Linked DNA regions of Homo sapiens: all the other regions are linked to region 1. The links are contacts of gene promoters, found by promoter capture Hi-C in human tissues and cell types (Jung and others, 2019). All regions are on one chromosome and are shown on one strand. The core of a region is centred on a gene start or on the middle of the fragment in contact, and the rest is flanking DNA. Distances in the headings are between cores, read along the strand shown.

Evidence for each region. The method cuts DNA at HindIII sites, captures the fragments that hold promoters and counts their contacts. A contact is called where the count stands out against the background at its distance.
Region 2: a fragment that was not itself captured here is called in contact with the fragment with the promoter of TMEM200C in region 1 in 1 of the 25 tissues and cell types used here (dorsolateral prefrontal cortex).
Region 3: a contact is called between a fragment that was not itself captured here and the fragment with the promoter of TMEM200C in region 1, in 1 of the 25 tissues and cell types used here (IMR-90 fibroblasts).
Region 4: a fragment that was not itself captured here is called in contact with the fragment with the promoter of TMEM200C in region 1 in 1 of the 25 tissues and cell types used here (mesendoderm cells).
Region 5: a fragment that was not itself captured here is called in contact with the fragment with the promoter of TMEM200C in region 1 in 2 of the 25 tissues and cell types used here (dorsolateral prefrontal cortex and lymphoblastoid cells).
Region 6: a fragment that was not itself captured here is called in contact with the fragment with the promoter of TMEM200C in region 1 in 7 of the 25 tissues and cell types used here (IMR-90 fibroblasts, aorta, dorsolateral prefrontal cortex and 4 more).
Region 7: a contact is called between a fragment that was not itself captured here and the fragment with the promoter of TMEM200C in region 1, in 2 of the 25 tissues and cell types used here (mesendoderm cells and spleen).

Annotation. Positions count from the first base shown.
Region 1 is chr18:5,893,932-5,897,251 of GRCh38, reverse strand. It overlaps TMEM200C (transmembrane protein 200C), which reads left to right and starts at 1,730. Exons shown (of 2, transcript NM_001395400.1): 1 at 1,730-2,222. All of the region lies in intron 9 of MIR3976HG (MIR3976 host gene), which reads right to left. LOC121725015 (a long non-coding RNA gene) reads right to left here and starts at 1,525. Exons shown (of 3, transcript NR_172505.1): 1 at 1,166-1,525. The HindIII fragment of the contact is 12,914 bases long and covers 1-3,320 here.
Region 2 is chr18:6,389,876-6,393,195 of GRCh38, reverse strand. The region is part of intron 1 of L3MBTL4 (L3MBTL histone methyl-lysine binding protein 4); the gene reads left to right. Among named protein-coding and RNA genes, the nearest start is that of MIR4317, 17 kb to the right of the region's middle. The HindIII fragment of the contact is 4,562 bases long and covers 1-3,320 here.
Region 3 is chr18:6,287,644-6,290,963 of GRCh38, reverse strand. The region is part of intron 4 of L3MBTL4 (L3MBTL histone methyl-lysine binding protein 4); the gene reads left to right. Among named protein-coding and RNA genes, the nearest start is that of L3MBTL4-AS1, 33 kb to the right of the region's middle. The HindIII fragment of the contact is 5,819 bases long and covers 1-3,320 here.
Region 4 is chr18:6,263,145-6,266,464 of GRCh38, reverse strand. It overlaps L3MBTL4 (L3MBTL histone methyl-lysine binding protein 4), which reads left to right. Exons shown (of 19, transcript NM_001330559.2): 5 at 2,427-2,518. Among named protein-coding and RNA genes, the nearest start is that of L3MBTL4-AS1, 8.1 kb to the right of the region's middle. The HindIII fragment of the contact is 3,896 bases long and covers 1-3,320 here.
Region 5 is chr18:6,239,976-6,243,295 of GRCh38, reverse strand. L3MBTL4 (L3MBTL histone methyl-lysine binding protein 4) reads left to right here. Exons shown (of 19, transcript NM_001330559.2): 7 at 1-2; 8 at 1,847-1,938. Among named protein-coding and RNA genes, the nearest start is that of L3MBTL4-AS1, 15 kb to the left of the region's middle. The HindIII fragment of the contact is 6,749 bases long and covers 1-3,320 here.
Region 6 is chr18:6,205,654-6,208,973 of GRCh38, reverse strand. All of the region lies in intron 12 of L3MBTL4 (L3MBTL histone methyl-lysine binding protein 4), which reads left to right. Among named protein-coding and RNA genes, the nearest start is that of L3MBTL4-AS1, 49 kb to the left of the region's middle. The HindIII fragment of the contact is 5,486 bases long and covers 1-3,320 here.
Region 7 is chr18:5,593,202-5,596,521 of GRCh38, reverse strand. It overlaps a transcript of EPB41L3 not described here. Among named protein-coding and RNA genes, the nearest start is that of EPB41L3, 51 kb to the right of the region's middle. The HindIII fragment of the contact is 8,110 bases long and covers 1-3,320 here.

The DNA of each region.
Region 1 (3,320 bases), core at 481-2,980:
CCAGATTATTATTGGGATTCAGGAGATCTGGAAGTTCAGAGCCAAAAAGGCTTTAGAAAACGACAACTAGATCTTATTATTTTTCCTTTGCAGTGATTTCTCTAAAAGGAAACAACCCAATGTGGGATTTAAAACTTTCCCTTCATTATGGTTTGTTTTCTAATAGCCTGAATCTGAGCATGAATAGGTAGGGGGAAGGCGGTGGGTTCCGGACACCCTGATCATCATTCAGATTCGTTATTTGCTTGAAAAGGGTGACAGAGGCCACCTTTCCAACAGGTGAATGCAGGGTTGCCTTTTAGAAAACACTTCTGCTTCGTTCCCTCCTGTCCCCCACCGTCTCTATCCCCATCTCTTAGATCACTGTTCACATTTATATCATTGAACTTGTAAATTGGTTGTCTTTATTGTTCTTTTTGAAAAGTGTCTGCTCTAGATTTAAGCACAAGTGAATGCTGTGTATGTGGGGAACAATCTTGTAACAGGAGCTGCGGGCAGCAGAGCCCTCCTGTGTGGGTTTTGTGGACCCCTAAGCAGCAAAACTCAGAATATATAACACCCACCACCACCAAAATATTTATCTGGATCCAAAATTTCAGACAGCACTTGCTTCATCTGCTCTTCTGTTCCTTTCTTCCTGAATCCTGGCTGCCTCATTTCAATAGATAAATGAAATCTTTCTCACTTTCTCAATACTCTTTGGGGAAATTCCACTTTGAAATTCTCTTTTCCCTGTCATTTTTACTTTACAGTTGAGAAGACAGGGATGAACTAGGAAACAGGATCTCGATCTCTTTCTCTCTCTCTCTCGCCTTCTCTCTTTTTTAAATGACGTAGGGAGTTTGGACATCCTCCCTACCCCCACCTCCCCTCTCTGATTCCAACCCTGATTCCTGATTCCTGGAGAATTATAGTTTTCCTTTTAATGCTTGCTGATTACCGCACCGGGGAGGAGCAGGAGGGGCTGCCCAAGGAAGAGCCCCGGAGCCCATTCTGATCTCCGAGGAGCCCCAGCTGCCGGGTCCCGGTCAGGCTGGTCACAAAGCCCGGCGGGGCTGGAGCGCGAGCGCATCTGGCAGAGGCTTCCAAGCGTCCCGCGGTGCGCCCGTCCCGGCGGGGGCGGCTCCACTCCGCCCGGGCCCGAGTTCGCTGGGGGACAACTTACTGTGCTTGCCGAGCGTCCACACTGCAAACTCCCAAGCGGGAGGGGGAAGAGAGCCCAGGCTGCGCCGTGCCGAGGAGTAGAGGCAACAAAAGACCGAGGCACGAGGGGAGGGAGGCAGGCACGGAGGGACCGCGGACTCTGGCCCCTAGCTCCCCGAGAGCGCCCCTCGGATGCTGCTGGGGAGACCCTCCGGGCCTCTCTTTGGGGCCTCTGGGGCCCGCGGCTCAGACAGGTAGTTGGAGGAAAGAAGAACAAAGCTGCCCGCGGAGGCAGGCGGCGGTCTCGGGGCGCCCCGGGGCGGGGAGAGCCGAGGCCGAGGAGGCACCCCGCGCCCCCTGCCCCGCGGCCCGAGCGCCCCGTGCCGGCTGCCTCCGCCGCCTCCCCTCACGCCTCCTCCTCCCCGAGGAATCGGCGCTTCCGAAGGGACGGGCGGCGGGCGGCGGAGGACGCGGGGGAGCGGGGAAGGCCGGCGGCGTGGGGGGGGGCGCCGGAGGAGGGGGTGGGGCGGGGGGCGGGGGCGGGGGCGCCCCCCGACTCCGCCGAGCCGGGCGGGCCCCGACCGCCACCCTGCCGCAATTTCCCTGTGTCATGGCTCCGGTCTCTTAGCAACAGCCGCCAGTCCGGCCGCCCCGAGCCGCCGCCGCGGGCTCAACTCCACCCGGCGGAGCCCGGCGCGCCGCAGCCACACAAAAGAGGCGCGAGGGCCGGCGGCGCGGCCGCAGGGGCCCGCCCGGGAGCGCCGCGCTAGGGGACGCCGGGAGCTGGAGGATGAGCGGCGGAGAGGAGGGCTCCGAGGCGGGATGCGGGATGCGGGATGCGGAGGACCTGACACTTCTTGGAAACTCTTGGAAATGGCTCCCGCCACAGCGCCGGCGGGGACTGCGAGCCTGGGGCGGGCGCTCGCCCCCGCGGGGCTGCTGAGTCGCGCTCGGATGCGGGGCCCCGGGGCGCTGTCCCTGCGCTCCGCCGTCGGCTCGGGCTGAAAAAGTTTCTCCATGGTTCCTTTGTGTCGCCCGAGCGCCCGTTCGCCGGCCCCGACCTCCCTCGGTCTCCCTGGGTAAGTGAGCGATCTTGCGTGCGGAGAGTGCTGCCATTTTGAGCAATTCTGCCAGTCCCCAGCCCTTGGGGGCCCCTCCCCGCCCCTCGGGTCCCCGAGTCCCCGCGCCCCGGGCTGGTGTTCGGTGAGAGGCTTTTTCCCGGGCTGGCTACACGGGATGCGCTGCCCAGAAAAAGCTAGTTCAGGATTGCCCTCACTTGGCTCCTGCCTGTCTTCTTTCCAGAGGCGGACTCCCAGCTGCTGCACTCATGTGACTCCAGCTAACATCAATAAGCAGACCAAAGCCAGGGGCCAGGGGGTCGCCGCCCTGCCAGTGAGGGGCCGGGGTCGAGGACCTGGGTTGGGTACCGGGCACAGCACAGCGCTCCCAGCCTGTGGGATCCGAGCCTCCGAGCCTCAGAGTGGGGCTTAATCCATCTTGAGCGGAGAACTTGAATGTCTCTCTTGGAAGCAGTTGTATTTTTAGACATCCCTCCTTTGCTTCCCCCATCCTCCATTCTTTAACCACGGTAAGACCAGCTCCAGGCAGTAAATTGCGAGGGCAGCCAAGCTTGACTGCTAAGTTTGTTTTCTTTCATTAGGTATAAAGGAAAACCTCAAAGGTGGGTCTCCCGTGGCATCTGACCTTTGTCTGTATTTCGTGTCAGATGATGATACATTAAAAGGGAGTACAGCCTTCAACAGAGCTGAAGGAATAATAAACGAGGGAGTTAATTACTAGCTATTAAACTCATTTTAAAGATGTGCGGTAAAGGACTGTTGAAATCCATTCCAACCTTCCTTACATTCTACCGGAGCCAAAGCTGCCTTGCTGAGGAGAAATCCAAGTGGGTTTCCTCCTCCCCCAAGGCATCCAGCCTCCCGGCGCACCTGATCAATGCCCAACAAAACATGTAGCCTTTCTGCGGTGGGAGAGCCACCCTGCCAACTGAGTCTGAGTTCGCTTCTAAAAAATGTCTGGTCCTTAAAGCCTTCTTAAGATAACCACGGATCTCCAGATTATTTAAGATGCTGGACTCCAAGGATCACTTAAAACAACAGTCTCTATGTTACAACCACATAATAAATGTGCTTACTTATTTGGGATTAGAGATAGAC
Region 2 (3,320 bases), core at 233-2,732, 500 kb before region 1:
ATTTGTGATTCATATAATGTGTGATTACATTTGGCCCGTTGAATTCGCATAAATTAAATATGATGTCTGTAGGCTCTATAGGGGGTTTATTATCTTTATAGTTAAAATTTTTTTTTTTATTTCAATCACTTTTGGGTTACAAGTGGTTTTTGGTTACATGGTTGAATTGTATAGTGGTGAATTCTGAGGTTTAATGTACCCATAAGCCAAATAGTATACATTGTATCTGATATGTAGTTTTTTTTGTCTCTCATTTCCTTCCTACTCTCCCCACTTCTGAGTCTCCAAAGTTCTTGATACCACTCTATATGTCTTTGTGTCCTCATAGCTGAGCTCACACTTATAAATGAGAAGATATGGAATTTGGTTTCCCATTCCTGAGTTACTTCACCTAGTTTAATTAGGTTCCATTTATTTAGTTTTGTTCTTGTTGCATTTGCTTCTGAAGTCTTAGTAATAAATTCTTTGCCTAGGCTGATGTTTGGAAGAGTTTTTCCAAGGTTATCTTCTAGAATTTTTTGGTTTCAGGTCTTAAGTCTTTGATACATCTTGAGTTGATTTTTGTATAGGGTGAGAATTAGGGATCCAGTTTCATTCTTCTACATGTGGCTATTCAGTTTTCCCAGCACTATTTATTTATTTATTGAGACAGAGTCTCTCGTTCTGTTGCCCAGGCTGGAGTGCAGTGGCACGATCTTGGCTCACTGCAACCTCTGCCACCCAGGTTCAAATGATTCTGCTGCCTCAGCCTCCTGAGTAGCTGGGATTATAGGCGTGTGCCACCATGCCCAGCTAATTTTTGTATTTTTAGTAGAGATGGAGCTTTGCCATGTTGGCCAGGCTGGTCTTGAACTCCCGATCTCAAGTGATCCACCCACCTTGGCCTCCTAAAGTGCTGGGATTGCGGATGTAAGCCACTGCGCCTGGCTCCAGCACCATTTATTAATAGGGTGTCCTTTCTCCAATTTATGTTGCTGTATGCTTTTGTTGTAAGTATTTGGCTTTATTTCTGGGCTCTCTATTATGTTCCATTGGTTTGTGTGCCTACTTTTATACCAGTACCATGCTGTTTTGGTAACTGTAGACTTATAGTATAATTTGAAGTCTGGTAATGTGATGCCTCCAGATTTATTCTTTATGCTTAGGGTTGTTTTGGCTATTTGGGCTCCTTTTTGGTTCCACATGCCATATGAATTTTAGGATTGTTCTAATTCTATTAAAAATGATATTGGTGTTCTGATAGGAATTGCACTGAATTTGTACTTTGGGCAGTATGGTTATTTTCACAATATTGATTCTTCCCATCCATGAGCATGTGATGTGTTTCCATTTGTTGTGTCATCTGTTATTTATTTCAGCAGTGTTTTGCAGTTATCCTTGTAGAGATCTTTCACCTGCTTGGTTAAGTATAGTCCTAGTAGTAGTAGTAGTAGTAGTAGTAGTTGTTGTTGTTGTTTGCAGATGTTGTAAAGGGATTGCGTTCTTGATTTGAGTCTCGGCTTGGTCATTGTTGGTATTTAGTGGTGCTATTAATCTGTGTACGTTGATTTTGTAACCTGAGACTTTACCAAATTTGCTTATCAAATCTAGGAGCCTTTGGAGGAATCTTTAGGGTTTTCTAGGCATATGATCATATCATAGGTGAACAGTGTTAGTTTGACTCCCTCTTTTCCAATCTGGATCCCCTTTATTTCTTTCTCTTGTCTGATTGCTATGACTAGTGTTACTATCACTATGTTGAATAGAAATGGTGAAAGTGGTCATCCTTGTCTTGTTCTGGTCTCATGGGGAATGCTTTCAACTTTTCTCTATTCAGTGTGATATTGCCTGTGGGTTTTCCATATATGGCTTTTATTGTTTTTAAGTAAATCTCTTCTATGCCTAGTTTGTTGAGGGTTTTTATCATAAAGGATGCTGGATTTTATAAAATGCTTTTTCTGTATCTATTGAGATGATCATATGGTTTTTGTTTTTAATTCTGTTTGTGTGATGTGTCACATTTCTTGACTTATGTATGTTAAAATATTCTTGCATCCCTGGGATGAAACCCACTTGATCATGGTGTATTATCTTTTGATGTGCTGTTGGATTCAATTAGCTAGTATTTTGTTGAAGATTTTTGCATCTGTGTTCATCAGGGATATTTGTCTGTAGACTTTTGTTTTTTTTTGTTATGTCCTTTCCTGGTTGTGGTATCAGGGTGGTACTGGTTTCATCAAATGAATTAGGGAGGATTCCCTTTTTCTCAATCTTTTGGAATAGTTTCAGTAGGATTGGGACCAGTTGTTCTTTGAATGTCTGGTAGAATTCAGCTGTGAATACGTCTGGCCCTAGGTTTTGTTGTTGGTGCTGGTGATTTTTAAATTACTGATTCAGTCTCACTGCTTGTTATTGGTCTGTTCATGGTTTCTGTTTCTTCCTGATTTAATCTAGGAAGGTCGTATGTTTCAAGAATTTATCCATTTCCTCTAGATTTTCTAGTTTGTGTGCATAGAGGTGTGCATAGCAGTCTCGAAGGATTTTTTGTATTTCTGTGGTGTTGGTTGTAATGTCTCCACTTTCATTTCTAATTCAGCTTATTTGAATGTTGTCTCTTCTTTTCTTGGTTAATATAGCTAATAATGGTATATCAATTTTGTTTATCTTTTCAAAGAACCAGGTTTTTGTTTCATTGATCTTTTGTATCTTTGTTTTTCAATTTCACTTCATTCTGTTCTGATCCTTGTTATTTCTTTTCTTCTGCTAGCTTTGAGTTTAGTTTGCTCTTGTTCTCTAGTTCCCTGAAGTGTGACAATAAGTTGTTAATTTGTGAACTTTCAGACTTTTTGATTGGCAATTAGCATTGTAAACTTTACCCTTAGCATTGCTTTCACTGTATCCCAGAAGTTTTGATAACTTGTGTCACTATTATTCATTTCAAAGAATTTTTAAATTTCCATCTTGATTTTATTGTTAACTCAGAAATCATTCAGGAGCAGATTGTTTAACTCCATGTAATATATGTGTGTGTGTGTATATGTATATATATATAGATATATAGTCTTGAGGGCTCCTTTTGGAGTTGATTTCTAGTTTTATTCCACTGTGGTCTGAAAAGATACTTGATATGACTTCAGTTTTTAAAAATATATTGAAACTTGTTTTTTGGCCTATCATATGGTCTGTCTTGGAGAATGCTCCATGTGCTGTTGAGAAGAATATATATTCTGCAGTTCTTGGGTAAAATGTTCTGTAGATACCAGTTAAGTCCATTTGTTCTAGTGTGTAGTTTAAGTCCATTGTTTCTTTGTTGACATTCTGTCTTGATGATCTGTCTAGTC
Region 3 (3,320 bases), core at 418-2,917, 390 kb before region 1:
TTTAGTTTAAGTTTATATAGGGCTTCAGAATACAGCAGTACCTGTTTTAGTAATTTTATATTAGAAAGTTGGATGGGATGAACCTAGAACTTAGGATCTAGTCTAGACCATAGGTAGATAATAAGAACTTGCAGCTCGCTGGGCATGGTGGCTCACTCCTGTAATCCTAGTAGTTTGGGAGGCCGAGACGGGTGGATCACCTGAGGTCAGGAGTTCGAGACAAGCCTGGCCAACATGATGAAACCCTGTCTCTACTAAAAATACAAAAATTAGCTGGGCATGGTGGTGTATGCCTGTAGTCCCAGCTAATTGGGAGGCTGAGGCAGGAGAATTGGTTGAACCTGGGAGGTTGAGGTTGCAATGAGCTGAGATGGCACCACTGCTCTCCAACCTGGGTGATAGAGCGAGACTCTGTCTCAAAAAATTAAAAAAAAAAAATAAAAGAATTCCAGTCAGTTCACTTGTAAAATTAAAGTCATTCATGTAGCCATAGTGATAATCAAAAAGCTGTGAAAAGCAATACAGAGAATTAAATGGAAAACATCCTTAATTCTTTTAAAGCTTAGTTTTTGTTTTGTTTAGTTTTTAAGTAATCAAAAACCTAATAAAGGCAACACAGGAAATTATATTGATAAACTATACACTCTGTTTCTTAGGCAAGCTACCAAAAAGGTAAAAAAAAAAAAAAACCCTTCTGCAGTCTGATTGTTCCTTTTTATAGGAAGCTCATTTAGGTAACCTGGAAGTAGGCTGGGCACGGCACCTCATGCCTGTAACCCAGGCACTTTGGGAGATCCAGGTGGTAGGATCGTTTGAGCCCAGGAGATCAGCCTGGGCAACCTAGTGAGACCTTGTCTCTACAAGAAATAAACAAAATTAGCCGGGTGTGGTGACACGTGTCTGTGGTCCCAGCCACTCAGGAGGCTGAGGCCAGAGGATTCCTTGAGCTCAAGAGGTTGAAGCTGTGAGTTATGATCACACCATTGCACTCAAGCCTAGGCAACAGAGCAAGTCCCTGTCTCAAACAAACAAAAACAAAAAACAAAGAAACAAAAAGATAACCTGGAAGTGAAATCTGATGAAAGGTTACTTGATCAGATACAGGAAAAATGTGTCCAAGGTTATGTATGTAGCAATTCATGAGGACAGAATCAAGTTATACTGCATGAAAACATTGCTTTTCCAAGCCTTCAAGATAAACATTTCACTGTCAGGCCATAACAGCTGAGTTAGAATTGTACTGACAAGTTACAGGATCTGAAAAAAAAAAGTTGAAGTAGAGAGTTGTCATCCCAGTCCTTCTCAAGGGGAGAACAAGCTGAAGGCAGTGATGTCTGACCTATAAATCACATGCAGGGAGATACAGCAAAGATTAACCTCTGAGACAGGAATCTGAGAAATTTTAAAAGGAAAACTTTACCTAAAGAAATCAAATTACCATTTTAAATGAAGAGGACAACATTTTAAACTTGAAACTAGGGAAACTAAAAGGATCTCATGAAGAAAAGTGTTAGGAATAGGAATTGCGCAGTTTAGAAGATGGCTGTTAAACAGATTTTATAAATAAAAATCAAAACCTGTTGTAATTTTTTAAAGAGCAGATCAATATTTCAAAAAAACCTTGTTGTTTTAAATATAGAGGACTAGACTCTGGTCCTGTATCAGTGCACCCCTCACACTAACATTTAATTTTTAGAAATTTTAGAAAAACAAGCAAATTTTTCCCAATCTCTTTAAACCCAGTCACACATAAAATGTCCTTCCTAAGACCCATTCTTTATAAATCTTTTTAAACTTGTTTAGACCTTTATCATTTTCCCCAATCCTCAGTCTCAGTCCTACAATTTTTCTCTTTTTAAAAAAACTTTGGGACAACCAATCATTTTATCTTAGGACAACAACTTACTATATAAGATTCTTTCTCATACAAATTTTTTTCTTTAAATTTATATTTTGATTATTAGACCTAAGTATATTTGGTCTTTTTATAAAATTTAAGGACGCAAGAAGGGACTTATATTTATTCAGCAATTTGTTTCAGTTTTTATCTTATTTGGATACGACCCAGAAACTTAATGATTTATTATTTAACAATAATATAAATTTAATATTTTAAATTATATGAAAATTTCATTTGTAAACTTTATTCCATTTACCATTACCTAACATTTATTTTTAAAATTACTATACCTGGATTACTTATGAAAAGTGAGATATTAGAGCTAGTTATTATTTCAAGTTTTTTTTTATTAACCAATTTTACATCCTGTTAATACCAGGTATTTACCTAAGTAAACCTTAAAGTTAAATACATGGGTATCTTAATGATAACTCAGAAGACAACTGTTTTTATTAAATCAATAACATTAAATTGATCTTATTTATCAACGAATTGCATAAACAAGATCATTTTGTTTTAGGCTGGGTTCATAGGTTCATGACCTTAAAACATTTAGCAGATGTTTACTGTCTGACCAGTAAGCTCAGGCAAAAATATATGTTGACAATTTTGAAGATATTTCTAATTTACCAAAAGTTTAAAAACCAATTAATTTATCAAAGATTTACTTAAGTCATGTGAACTAAAAATAAACATTTGGGTTAGTTAGCATATATTTTATATGAGCACTCATTTATTTAAATCAATTGGAATAAAATTTCTTAAGGGATTTCTTGATGACTATGCCAGATTTTATTATGTTGACACAACATACAACATAATACATTTACATATGTATAAACACATTCTAAACACATATACATACACAGAGAGATTGTATAGCTTTTACTTTAGAATTTCAGTTATGAGATTATAAAACATGTACACTCACCAGTTTATAATATAAAGACAGTTGGATCCAGATTATTTTTCTGACAAAATGGGATAGGGTCAAACTTTAAGATTTCTCTTTTATTTTGTTGAGACAGAGTCTCGTTTTGTCACCCAGGCTGGAGTGCAGCGATGTGACTACAGCTCACTGTAGCCTTGACCTTCTGGGCTCAAGTGATCCTCCTCCCTCAGCCTCCTGAGTAGCTGGGACCTCAGGCATGTAGCTACCATACCTGGCTAATTTCTAAATTTTTATAGAGACAGGGTCTCATTATGTTGCTCAGGGTAAGATTTATTTAAATAGGTAATCTTATAAAGGCTGTGAACCAAATTTTGGATAAAGCAGTTTGAATCCGATACCAATATCCTGTATTGGCAAAAGGATAGTCAACTGTGAAATGTGACTAAATGATATCAGGAGGCCCACAAGCTAAGAGTTAGCCTACCAAGGTCTGCATAGTATTTTCTTGGTCTTGACTCTTTGTCCTTG
Region 4 (3,320 bases), core at 324-2,823, 370 kb before region 1:
GCATCTTCTTCTGGAACATTCACAGCAAAGATAGATGCTAAAATTAGGACTCAGCGTTTTCTGATGAGTATTCTCCAAGGATGTGTGTGTGTATAGCTAAGTAGTAATACTTGCAGATAATTTTTAAAATATAGATTGTGTTAAATAAAGAAAGAATATTTATGTCAATCTTGCCATCCACATGTAGCCACTGTTAGTATTCTGCTGTTTCTTTCCAATTGCTTTTCTACGTGAATGTGTTTGGTTGTGTGGACATACATATGCCTGTTGCTTAGCACATAGAAGTTGCTGTATAAATATGTGAATAAATGAATGTCTTAATATATGGAATAACTTGTATAATATATATGTATGTATGTTTTTTTATTTTTAAATGAGAAATAATTGTATATATTTATGGGGTAAAATGTAATTTTTGAAATATGCTTGTGGAATGATTATATCAAGTGAATTAACATATCCGTCACCTCACATACTTATGTTTTTTGTCATGAGAATATTTAAAATCTATTCTTTTTAGCAGTTTTGAGGTATATAACATTATTCACTATAGTCAGCATGCTGTGGAACATATCTCTAAAGCTTATGCCTGCTGTCTAACTGGAACGTTGTATCCTTTGGGCAACATCTCCCCATTCCCGATTCCTTTGTCATCCAGCCTCTGGTAACCACCTTTCTAAGCACTGCTTCAATGAGTTTGACTTTTTTTTATTGCATGTCTATAAGATCATGCAGTATTTATTTTTCTGTGCCTAACTTATTTCACTGTGCCTAACTTATTTCACTTAGCATAAGTAAGGACACAAAACAGCAGATATGATCTAAATAGACACCGTTTTGTGTCTTTACTTAGTTTTTTTACTTAACCCAGATAATTCTCAAAATATATTAAATACATAAAGCATAAAAATATAGTTTTCGATAACCTCAGAATCATATATGTATGTATATACAATAGTTTCTTTAACCTCCTTCCCATATTAATACTACTTTGCATTTTGCTGTTATTTTGTGATGTACATTTTTACCATCAACTTTTATCAGTGCTTAACTACTCTCTTAGTATGTAATCCTAGAGAAGAAGTACTGGGGAGTAGAATGTAAACCTGAGATAACTATTAATCCTTTTTGCCAGCTTTTGTTATTCAAAAATGATAATTTTGTTGAATTACAAAGATTAGCTATTCATCTAGAAAATTTGGAAAGCAGAAAAAGAAAGCACAAAGAAAATTGGGAAGGAATTATTTATAATTCTGGCACTTAAGATGATTTCATTTGAATGTTTTTGATTTATGTAAGTTTAGTCTTATTTAATCTATTACACATTTACCAAAAATGATCATTTAATCTATTACACATTTACCAAAAATGATCAATTTGTTTCCTTAACTGCTTCTTTTTCCTACTTAGTAGTATATCATTACATAGTCCTTCTCTGCCTTTAGACAGTTGTCTACAAAGCAATTTACTGGCTGGTTTTGAAAGGGCATGTCCATGTAACGCGTTTAATTACCTCCTCCTTTGTGGACCTTTACTTTGTTTCCAGTGTTTAATTTGATGTGGGATTCTAGGAAAAAAACTCTTGTGTTTTGCCCCTTGGGCGTGTCTACTGCGATTGCATTAAGACAAATTCCTAGGAGAATTGCTGGTTCGACTTTTAGGAACGATTTTTTTTTCCCCAAGATGAGATTTCGCTCTTGTGGCCCAGGCTGGAGTGCAGTAGTGCGATCTCGGCTCACTGCAACCTCCACCTCCTGGGTTCAAGCAATTCTCCTGCTTCAGCTTTCCAAGTAGCTGGGATTACAGGCACCCGCCACGATGCCCAGCTAATTTTTGTATTTTTAGTAGAGACGGGGTTTCACCATATTGGCCAGGCGGGTCTCAAACTCTTGACCTCAGGTGATCCACCTGCCTTGGCCTCCCGAAGTGCTGGGATTACAGGCGTGAGTCACCACGCCAGGCCAGGAACGATTTTTAAGCTTTGACAAATACTGCCACATTAGCTTTCCACAGGTTGTGCCAATTGACATTCACAGCAAAAAGAAGTATGAAAGTGGAAGGAGATTATAAAAAACTTTAGACTATTAACTGTAAAATTAGCTAAATCACTTTCCAGAAAGCCTGTGCCTGTTCACCCTCTTAGAGAGGAGCAAGATGGTACCTAACTTGAGAGTTCACTAGGCATTTTCTAGAGGGTGAGACATATTCATTAGCCTGGTCCGAAACAGGAAGAGCTGAATATGGAGTGGTTAGGTGATTTTACTAAATGTTCATATGAATTGAGAGAGAAGACTCTTCTTAGTTGCTGGGTCTTTCAACTACCAATTTAACTAATTAGCCTGCTTCTTGAGTTTATTGTCAAGTAAGTTTTATTATTTTCCTGTCACTAATCATTTTGAGAAAAGTCATTGTGTTTTCTCTTCCAGTCCCTTCAGCGGCTGCACAGGGAGCATGGTCTTGGGAGTGGTACTTGAAAGAACAGAAGGCTGTCGCAGCACCTGTTGAGCTGTTTTCCAAGGTCAGCCACTGAAGGACTTATATTTTTGCAAGGAAGCAACACTTAAGAGGTTTAGTTTAAATGAAATGACTTTCCTAGATAGCCCATCAACTTATTTGAATTATTTGTAGGCTCTGCTGGAAAATGACCCCACAAACCTAATCAGAGCTTTAGTGTTTCAGAGTGGGCTGGAGCCCGGCGCCGCCACCTGCCAGCTCTGTGACCTTGGGCAAGTCATTCAGTTCAGTTTCCTCATCCATGAGGTAGGAAAGGTTCCCTACCTTTCTCCTTGGGTGGTTGGAGGACTAAATCAGTTGTACCCGTAAAGGATATAGGATGCAATGTGCATACTATAAATGCTCAAGAAAGTGTTAGGTTTTACTTCTATTAGCCAGTATTACCTGCAGTTAGAGGGATCTGTTTGGATGTGTTTCTAAGAGTGGTGAGTCAAGCAAGATGTTAGAGAAGACATTGAAACCCCTGAATCCTGGCATACATGACTAGAAAGGTGAACAGAGCAGCTGGTGTAGACTTCCTTGACCATCTGGGCCTTACAGGGGATCATCTTTACCCAAGACACCAAATCTTCTGATAGTCTTTTTGTTCTTCTTGGTCTGAGTTTTAGATGTTTTGGGGAAATTTATGTGCATCAGATTTACCTCGTTACTTTACTTTTTTTTTTCTTTTTTTTTTTTTTTGTGAGACGGAGTCTGGCTCTATCGCCAGGCTGGAGTGTAGTGGCATGATCTTGGCTCGTGGCAACCTCCAACTCCCTGGTTCAAGCGATTCTCCTGCCTCAGCATCTGAGAAGCTGGGATTACAG
Region 5 (3,320 bases), core at 457-2,956, 350 kb before region 1:
GGGTAAGCCAGGATACATTTACCAACTGGAAAGAGAATCAATTGGTATTTCACTTATATTTTAACAATACTTTATGAAATTCGAAGAAGAGATCCTGGTGTGGATTGATTTCCAAAATGAAATTGTGTTCCATAAAGAGTAGTAAGACTATAATGGTACCATTTTTAGAAGTAAATGTCTTTAAAGAAAAGCATAAATGACTATTTAGGTCAAATATTCTGATAATGTACAGAAGGCAGAAATAAAATATTATGAAAGCATTTTATTTTATTTTATATAAAGTTTATTAAACCTTATAAGCAGTGCAGACTAATATTTAAATCATGGTTGAAACAAAATATCTAATCAATGATACAGCAAGGTGAGGAAACTTGATTCACTGTAAGTAATTTGTTTCAGACTTAGGAATCACGGAAAACAAAGAACTATGAAAAAAATCACTATTTTCTTTCGATGGGAATGAAAAATATCATGGTTTTGTTATGTGCTAGAGGAGTCTGGGCCAGGCAGATGTGACCAAAACCTTTTCGATTTGCTGTGTGCAAGTGAGGTGGGGATGTGGTCAAGGATGATGCTGACGGGCTCATATCTTTGCACAGCAAACTTCTGTACATTGTCTCTGGCTTGGATGTCAGACTGTTCGATGTCTGTGGCAACTTCTGGAGTCAGTATACAGTCCTTTATTCCTAGTTATCCACTCAGGGTGTCCCTTGGGATCCTCCCCTGAGGCTGATGGCAGAGTCCTTGAGGTTGCTGGTTTGGAGGAAGCTGGTGACAGGCTACAGGCTCATTCATTCAGTAGGTATTTATGGAGCCCTTACCACGTGAGGCACTGAGGGCCAGTAGCAAGTAAAGCAATGTCTCTATCTCCACGGGGCTTCATTTCAGAGGAGAAGGATAATGGCGGTGGCTGCAGGGACACTCTTTCAGAAAGCATGGGGGAGAAAGGCCTCTCTGTGGACATAATGTTCCAAAGAGACGTGGGTGAAATGACAGAGGAAGCAGTGTGGTGTCTGGGTAAGCCCTCCAAGGGAAGAACAGGAGCAGGCGCCGGGGCAGGAGTGCGCTTTGCGAGGATGAGTCATCTCAGGGAGACAGCAGAGAAGCGCCCAGGTGGGAAGGTCGGGGACGAAGAGGGTGGTGTTCCCAGGCCTGGAAGGCTGTGCAGGGAGTTTGACTTCTGTTCCAAGGCTGGTGCTCAGAACCATATTTTGAGCCTGTACTGTTTGGCCAGCACTGTGTGAGAGCCACGCCAGGGCATGCGAATGGGAGGATGCAGCAGTTTTTAATGGGAGACTAGTAAAGATGCGGCGCAGAAAGCTGGAGCTGTGGAGTGGGCATTGGATTGAGAAGGCGTTTCTGTGCCTGGCATCCTGGATGGCTGCACCCTCAGGACCTCTGATGGTCTCTGTAAAGTCTCTTCCTCAGGAGTGGGGACAGGTACGGGAACTCTGGTCTCATCCCTTTGCCCATTCAGGAAAGCCTTAATGGGCGATGAGACTCCCATCAGGCCACCAGAGTACTGACTCCGTATCAGAGCATGTGAAATTGTATCGGGAATGATGCGCGTGATGGGGAAGCACTATCAACAGTTTTGCACATAATACATTTTAAAAAGGTGAAACAATTTGGAGATTTTAATTTAAATCTTTTGTGGGTGCTAAGGACGTTGAATTTATGGCAGGACACTAATAATAACCATATGAGGTTGGTGCAAAAGTAATTGCGTTTTTTTTCCATTAAAAGTAATGGCCAAAACCGCACTTACTTTTGCACCAACCTAATATATTTAATATGCATGTGATTACATCTTTTGGGTATTTTGAGTAATCTGTGCTTTTTTTAGGTTATAGAAAAGATAAATTTGTTTGGATGGATTACTTGAAGGCCTGCAAATTGCAAAATGCTCCAAAGAAATTATTCAGAAACAGAAGTCCTGTAAGTATTTTCTTTCCCAGCATAAATCAAATTTCCCCCAAGCTTAAATTTCTTAAAATTCACTATATATTCTGTTTTATTTTAATCCTTTAAGAAGTTATGGAAACTGTTAACTTCCTGTCACTTTTCTCACCTAATTCGTCAGTTTCTTGTGGGCATATCTTGGTTTTCTTCCTTTAAAAGTATAATTAAATACTTCAATTAGATGAGAAAAAGTTGGGAAAACTTAAAAACTTTATGTTTAAAGCCTACTAAAATTGAAAGTGTCTTTTAAAAATGTTTTCCCTTACAGGGAGTTAATCCTTTAATCTTGCTTTTGGTGTTTTGAAACCAGCAGATACTCTAAGTAGGCTTTGAATGTACCCAGCCTAGATATATTTAAGTGTAATGAAAATGAGAGTAACATTTTGTACTAATTGAAGGGGTGTTCTGCGGATCTGGGTAGATCACACTTCTTATGCCATCCGTGTCCCCAGAAATCTAGTGAACCTTCAGTGGAGGAGAATAAATTGCAACTCCAGAAGTCGGCTCTGCCACTGGCAGGCGGTGTCACTGTGCAGGCCACTCACTGAATTTCTCCAGACATCACTTCTGTGATCTTGAAAGCAGTGTTATACAATCGTTAAATATGTTTCCTAGATTTGTATCAAGAAAAGGAGCTATTAAAACGTGAAGTTGCTGTAAAAATAGAATGTGCTGAAGGAGAATAAAAATCAGGGTTTGATGAAAGAGAAGTAGAGAAAAACACCCTCTTTCAGTTCCCGGATACTGTATGTACTCCCTAAATCCCAGGATTGGCTAATTATAGATATATGAAGGGTGGGTTTGTAATTGTTATGTTATTGTAAATCATAGTTCATAGTATTTTTATACTAAGAAAAGCACAGATAGTAAAAAAGCACTCACATTTTAAAATTATAAATTTAAATTATATGTTAAATATATATAAATTATATATAAATACACATTTTAAATTATAATTTTATTTAAGCATGTATTTCTTAAATATTGAAAAAGCCACTTATTTTCAGATTGAGTAATCAAATTAACAGGATACTTTGGTGCTAATTAGAGCATATCTTCACCACTTTTTCAAATAGTGGCATTTGGAAACTTCAAAAGCCTATGGGAAGCAGAGAAGGTTATTTGATACTATTGTGTTCAGTAAACATCATATTTTAAAATTAATACAAATTATTCTAAGAAAAAAGAGGGAAATATGAAGATGATAAGGGAAAGAAAACCTCCCTGCACAACAAAAGGCAAAAGCACAAAGGAAAGCTAGTTTCCTGGGCCTTTGTTATGAATATAAACTGTGTGACAGTTGCCGGATATTTTTACAGGCATTTGATGGCTTTGTCCAGAGGCTAAGTGCTGACACC
Region 6 (3,320 bases), core at 243-2,742, 310 kb before region 1:
TCATAAATCCACTTAAACTAGTCAGGTCAGATTTTCTGATTTTTATACTGAAAATATTCATTTGGTGATATGTGGTTCATTGGCAGTTGAGTGGTGAAGTTTTTCATGCCATGGCAGGGTTTTAAGATGCTAGGTTTATTAATTATGATGGTTGCTCTCTAATAAGCGTTTATGATGTACTCAGTGTATCTTGTTCAATTTATAGCCAGCTATTATGTTTAATAATTATTCTTTTGTTTGGTTGTACAGTGTGTGCTGTTATATCTGAAAGCCCATTACTGTTGCCTTATCAGAAAATGCACATTAAATTACAGTAGATGGGTGGATGCTTTTAGGAAGTTTAGCCATTATTTGTGGGAAAAAGTATTCTACAAATAAAGATAAAGGAAGGACTTAAAACAGAGTAACATTTGATAAATATTTGCCCTGTGGGAAATGCAGCTAAGCTGTGAAATGAATTATAAATGAATTTCAAATAGATGCTTTAATAAGTTCTACTGAATCATTAATAAATTGAGTCTCTTCAACAAGTCTTTTCCTATTTAATGCATTAACTGGACATATTTGTGGCATTTCACAATGAAATTAGAGCATCATGACCAAGAGAAATTGTTATGGCTGTCTAGTTATGTAACTAGAAACTATTTTGGGTTTTATGTCAGACCAATAAGTTCAAAAGCTCTTGTTTGAGAAAAACCTGCAGGAGTATTAATGCAAAACAAAAGTCCAGATATGAGTTAGTGATGTTCACTTTACTAAGGGTTGCCTGTGCTTCCAGAAAGCCACCTGACCTCTATCTAACTGGAATGCATTATTTATTTATTTATTTATTTATTTATTTATTTATTTATTTATTTTTTAGACAGGGTCTTGTTTTGTCGCCTAGGCTAAAGTGCAGTGGCACAATCATGGCCTGCCGCAGCCTTGACCTCCATGGGCTCACACAATTCTCACACCTCAGCCTCCTGAGTAGCTGAGACTACAGTGTGCGCCACCACACCTAGCTAATTTTTGTTAATTTTTTTTTTCTTTGCGGAGATGGGGGTTTGCAGTGTTGCCCAGGCTGGTCTTGAACTCCTGAGCTGAAGTGATCCACCTGCCTCGGCTCCCAAAGTTCTGGGATTATAGGTGTGAGACGTCGCACCTGGCCTGGGATGCATTTTTGAAAAGGGCTTTGAAATACGAGGATAGAGCAAGATACCAACATTAAAAATATATGTCCTTTGAGCTAAGCTTGTAATTAATGGTCATCACAGTGTCACAGTGATTGATGGCTGTCTTCATTTGGGAAGGAGACTGGGACAATTTTCAGAAGTGTTATGACCCATCAATGAAAAGATGATTTTTTGAGTAGGTAAAACTATAAATTAGTGTCAGCCATGAATTCCAGAAAAGTTGAAGCAGAGAGAGTGCTCAACCAGGTGAACGTGCCTCAGTTAATTCCAGGTAAAATGAAGAAGAGCAGTGACAGTACTAGAGCTGGCTCACTCAAACCCCCATGCTGCTGTGTCCTTGCTTCCCATTTTCTTACTCTTATTCTTCACAGCAACCCAATAAAGTAGCATATGTAAGGAAATAGGCGCAGAAAGCTTAAAAGACTTGGCCAAGGTTGCACAGCTTATAAGTGGTAGAGCCAGGTGGGAACCAGTTGGCCTGGTTCTTCAGCCTGAGCTCTTAAACCAGGTGGCAGTGCCTTTTTTGTAAGGAGCCAGAGAGTAAATATTTCAGGCTTTGTGGGCCATGTGGTCTCTGCAGTAACTGCTCGACTCTGCTGTTCATCACAAAAACAGCCAGAGACAATATATAAACAAATAAATGACTCTGAAATTTGCATCACACATACTTTTCACATGTCATGAAACAATCTTCTCTTGACTTTCTCCCCAGCCATTCAGAAATGTAAAAAACATTTTTAGCTCATGGGACTCACAGAAACAGGTGGTAATAAGGGTCTTTTTGGCCTGTGGGCTGTAATCTGCCAACCCCTGTCTTAAGAGATACTGTACTGGTTAGACTATTAGATGAATTTATTAGTTGTTACCTTTAGTATAAATAGTTTTGTATCCTTGTCTTATTTTTTCCAATATCTGATTTTTGGACCAAATCACATCTATATTTACTTTTCAATCTAGTTTTAGATCAATTTTAGCTATTAAGTAAAAAAAGGTAGAAGAAATGCGGGCTACCATGTAATCAACAGCTTCTAGATTTAAAAGAAATACATATTTTTTTCTCCTATCAGTTGATAACCCTCTTTTTATTTGGTTTTCAGTGTGAAAGTAGCCAAGCCCCTGAAAGGATGTATAGTCTCTCACTGTATTTGTATTCTCCAAGAACTGTAGTAGGGACTTACCTTTCACATTTTTATTAAAGTCAGCATACCAATAACGGAAACACGGGCCGAGCAGCACTACGGAAACATGTGGCCTTGGTGATGAATTGGCGCCTACTCTAGAACTCCCTGGATAACTCCCCCACCCTGTACCCATCTTACCAGCCTGACCTGCGAGATCTAGTGAGATCCTGACATGATTATTTGGCTAGAGACATCAGCTCAGTCATGAGCCAGATAGAATAGAAATAGAATGTTTCACAGTTTTCTATGCACAACACTGTGTAGAAACTTCTTAAATAAAAGATGATGATGTAGCACTAGTTGTTCTTAACTCTTCTTTTTTAGGGATATACATTTCTTTGAGTGTCTGAGGGATGCTACAGATAGCTCCAATGCAAAATGCACATATAAGTGTACACCAATACAGGATTATATTTGTGTTTCAAGGGTTAATGGACCTTTGAGTAAGGACCTTATTTTAGACTAACAGTTCTTGATAAAGCAGATTCTTCGTTCTGCATACTCTTGGCCCTTCATTCAAAGCTTTATATTTGCTCAAAAAGTATAAGACCTCTGACCTGCTGTGATAATGAAGCCTCCTCATTTCCCAGACCTTCAGTCAGAATGTGCAATATGTACTCACTCTATTCCTTCAGAGAAAACAAGAGTCTGTGGAATTTGTCTTAGCTTTGGAGGAGACATACACATTCTCTGCCATTTTCCTGAACAGAAGTGTACTATTTCTGACCAGCTGCAGTTCTGACATTCCAAATGCCCTTACTAATACTGATACTTAGCTAATTATGCCAAACATCGTCTCTTTTGCTCACATCCTGCTTTGTAGGCACTCTATTTTTAACCACTGGAAGAATATCTTTCAAAAATAAATAAGTGAATAATGGACTAACGAAGCAAGATGGTGACCACATTCTCCCCCATTCCTTCTTCCAAAATCTATGCCATTTCTTGTGATATAAGAAAGGAT
Region 7 (3,320 bases), core at 511-3,010, 300 kb after region 1:
GTTTCAGAAACTCATAGGAGACCTGCTTAAGAAGACCCTGCTAATCATAATGTGGTTAGACCCTGGGCGTCCTACTTAGCTGTTACTTTTGGTGGGTCACACCCAGCTTCTGAAGGCCTCAGTCTACTTTTGTAATATAGGAAATAAGGTTAGATAAGTGGTTCTCAAAGCCTGGTCCACTGACCAGCACGTCAGCCTTACCTGGGACTTGTTAGAAATCCATTCCTTGGCCCCAGGACCTACAGAAGCATAGACTGCAGGGGTGGGACCCAGAAATCAGTGTTCTGCCATGCCCTCTGATGTGATCGCTAGGAACACTTCTAGCTTCAATGATCTAAGATTCTCAGAAGTCATATGGCTCATTCTGGCCTTCAGGTAAGTGGTTTTCTGGACCAATCCGAACAGAGAAATATTCAGAGGATGGACACTATGTGAGGTGGCTCATTCCATTGTTTAAGCATCTCAGGAAGCTCTTATACCTCATTGTTTAAACACAAATAAATTTAGAGCAGTGAATTTTAAATTGCTTTTTGGATTACAGTTACCTTAAAGACTTAAAAACGGTTATAAAGATTCCCCAGAGAATGTGGGGATGGAGTGGAAGATGGGAGCCACCTACTGGAATATACATTAAATTAATATACAATTTTTGGAGGATTACAGATTACCCCCAATAGTATTCCATGATCCCCATGGACCTGCTTAAGAAGCACCGATTTAGAAATTTTTTGGTGGACAGTTAAGGAAAATAAGCACATGTCCAGGAATTCTGAAATGGAGAATCGGTCAGTAAATTTACTACAGTTGCCTTTTTTTAAAAATCAAGTATGTAGTATGTATCAAACACTTACTGATGGGGAAGGCACTGTTTGAGCTGCTGGGGTGGGATGCATCCTACTCTCTGAGCTTTCACACAATTACTGCAGAAGTGGGCACATCAGATAACAAATAAGCAACAGATTCCTTCTGCCAGGAAATGTTCCCAAAAGACATGGCACGTGAGATGGCCCCTAGGGTAGACCTCAAGGTGGAGAGGAGGTACAGGAGCTCCTGCTTGCTGAGAGGATGGCATAAGAAGGGGCTGGAAAATGGAAGGCTGTCCAGGAGACAGTGTATTCCTGGCTTCTGGGGAGGGCGTGCACAGCCCAGACTGATGGAGGAGCAGTCAGTGTGGAATCTGTGGCTCCTGCTAAGCTTTCTTCCAGGGCTACATATAAATCTCTTGAAGGAGATGAAGTGGAATCTTTCCTTCTGCACTTATTTTAACATGGACAGTTGTCAATTCTCTGCTTTAGCTCCAAGGATTCTCTTGGAAACAAAGCATTTCTTTCAATGGAGGGTATTGGATCTTAAACAATTAGGCTGGTTCTCTTTACAGAGCAAGTTATAACCATTTGCCCAGAAGTCAATGCCCAGAATTTTGAGCTATATTTTTACTTCAACATTAGAGAAGCCAAAAGCTGGGTCATTTTTAGAGATCTAACAATGAATACATTGCATATTCTCTATGTGCCTAGTGTGGATTGATTAATTCTGTATACTTAGTAGTTTCTCATAAGGCATTGCCTTATAGTCTTTTAACAAGATTTTTATTAATTCTTGCGGGAAAGATAATTTTCTCCTTATTTTCCGTATGTTTCCTATTACAATTTCAATAGTTTTGTCTTGATAATCTTATGTAATCCAACATCATGTCCTGGTTGTTTAATTCCAGAAGAAATAGGGCTGTGTGAAAGTGGTTTTCCAACTTGATCAAATCTTCATCCTTAGTATTCACTGCTAGACTAGATTAAGGCTTCAGTACTGCCAAATGCTGCTTAAATTCACAGTGAGGGGAGCAAACAATTTAGAAAGCTGGTTTTTTAGTCTGCCTTCTAAAAGGTTGGGTGAAGGGAAAATGATGATATTGCCTAGTCTGAAGCTGGAAGATACACAATCTTAGGAATTTAGGGTGACATAATTAAAAGTTAAATTACCCTTCTTGAAATTACCAATTAAATCAATTTTTATGAAAACTACATGTTATTTTTTTCCGTATATTTTATTACAATGCAAGGCCTTCAGAGAAAAAGTATTTTCTTATGTACCTCTTAAAATGAGGTCACACAGGATAAAATATTCAATAACTTTACTTTGTGTGCATTAAATGTAATTGAGAGGTTTACCAGATTGGTAATGTACCAATGGTGGGTAACAGATATTTAAAATTTTGCGGGGGTGTTGCGGGAAGTCAGGGACCCCGAATGGAGGGACCGGCTGAAGCCATGGCAGAAGAACATGGATTGTGAAGATTTCATGGACATTTATTAGTTCCCCAAATTAATACTTTTATAATTTCTTATGCCTGTCTTTACTGCAGTCTGTAAACATAAATTGTGAAGATTTCATGGACACTTATCACTTCCCCAGTCAATACCCTTGTGATTTCCTATGCCTGTCTTTACTTTAATCTCTTAATCCTGTCAGCTGAGGAGGATGTATGTTGCCTCAGGACCCTGTGATAATTGCGTTAACTGCACAAATTGTAGAGCATGTGTGTTTGAACAATATGAAATCTGGGCACCTTGAAAAAAGAACAGGATAACAGCAATATTCAGGGAACAAGAGAGATCACCTTAAACTCTGACCGCCGGTGAGCCGGGCGGAACAGAGCCATATTTCTCTTCTTTCAAAAGCAAATGGGAGAAATATCGCTGAATTGTTTTTCTCAGCAAAGAACATCCCTGAGAAAGAGAATGCGCCCCTGAAGGTGGGCCTCTAAAATGGCCCCCTTGGGTGTGGCCATTTTCTATGGTTGAGACCTTAGGGATGAAATAAGGCCCAGTCTCCCATAGTGCTCCCAGGCTTATTAGGACGAGGAAATTCCCGCCTAATAAATTTTGGTCAGACCGGTTGCTCTCAAACCCTGTCTCCTGATAAGATGTTTTCAATGACAATGGTGCCTGAAACTTCATTAGCAATTTTAATTTCGCCCTGGTCCCATGGTCCTGTGATCTCGCCCTGCCTCCATTTGCCTTGTGATATCCTATCACCTTGTGAAGCACGTGATCTCTGTGACCCACACCCTATTCGTACACTCCCTCCCCTTCTGAAAATCTGTAATAAAAACTTGCTGGTTTTACGGCTCAGGGGGCATCTTGGAACCTACCAAAATGTGATGTCTCCCTCGGACGCCCAGCTTTAAAATTTCTCTTTTGTACTCTCTCCCTTTATTTCTCAAACCGGCTGTTGCTTAGGGAAAATGGAACATACATGAAATATCAGGGGTGAATTTTGCCCGATATCTGGCTGAATTTCCCCCGATACAGGGACAGGGGGGT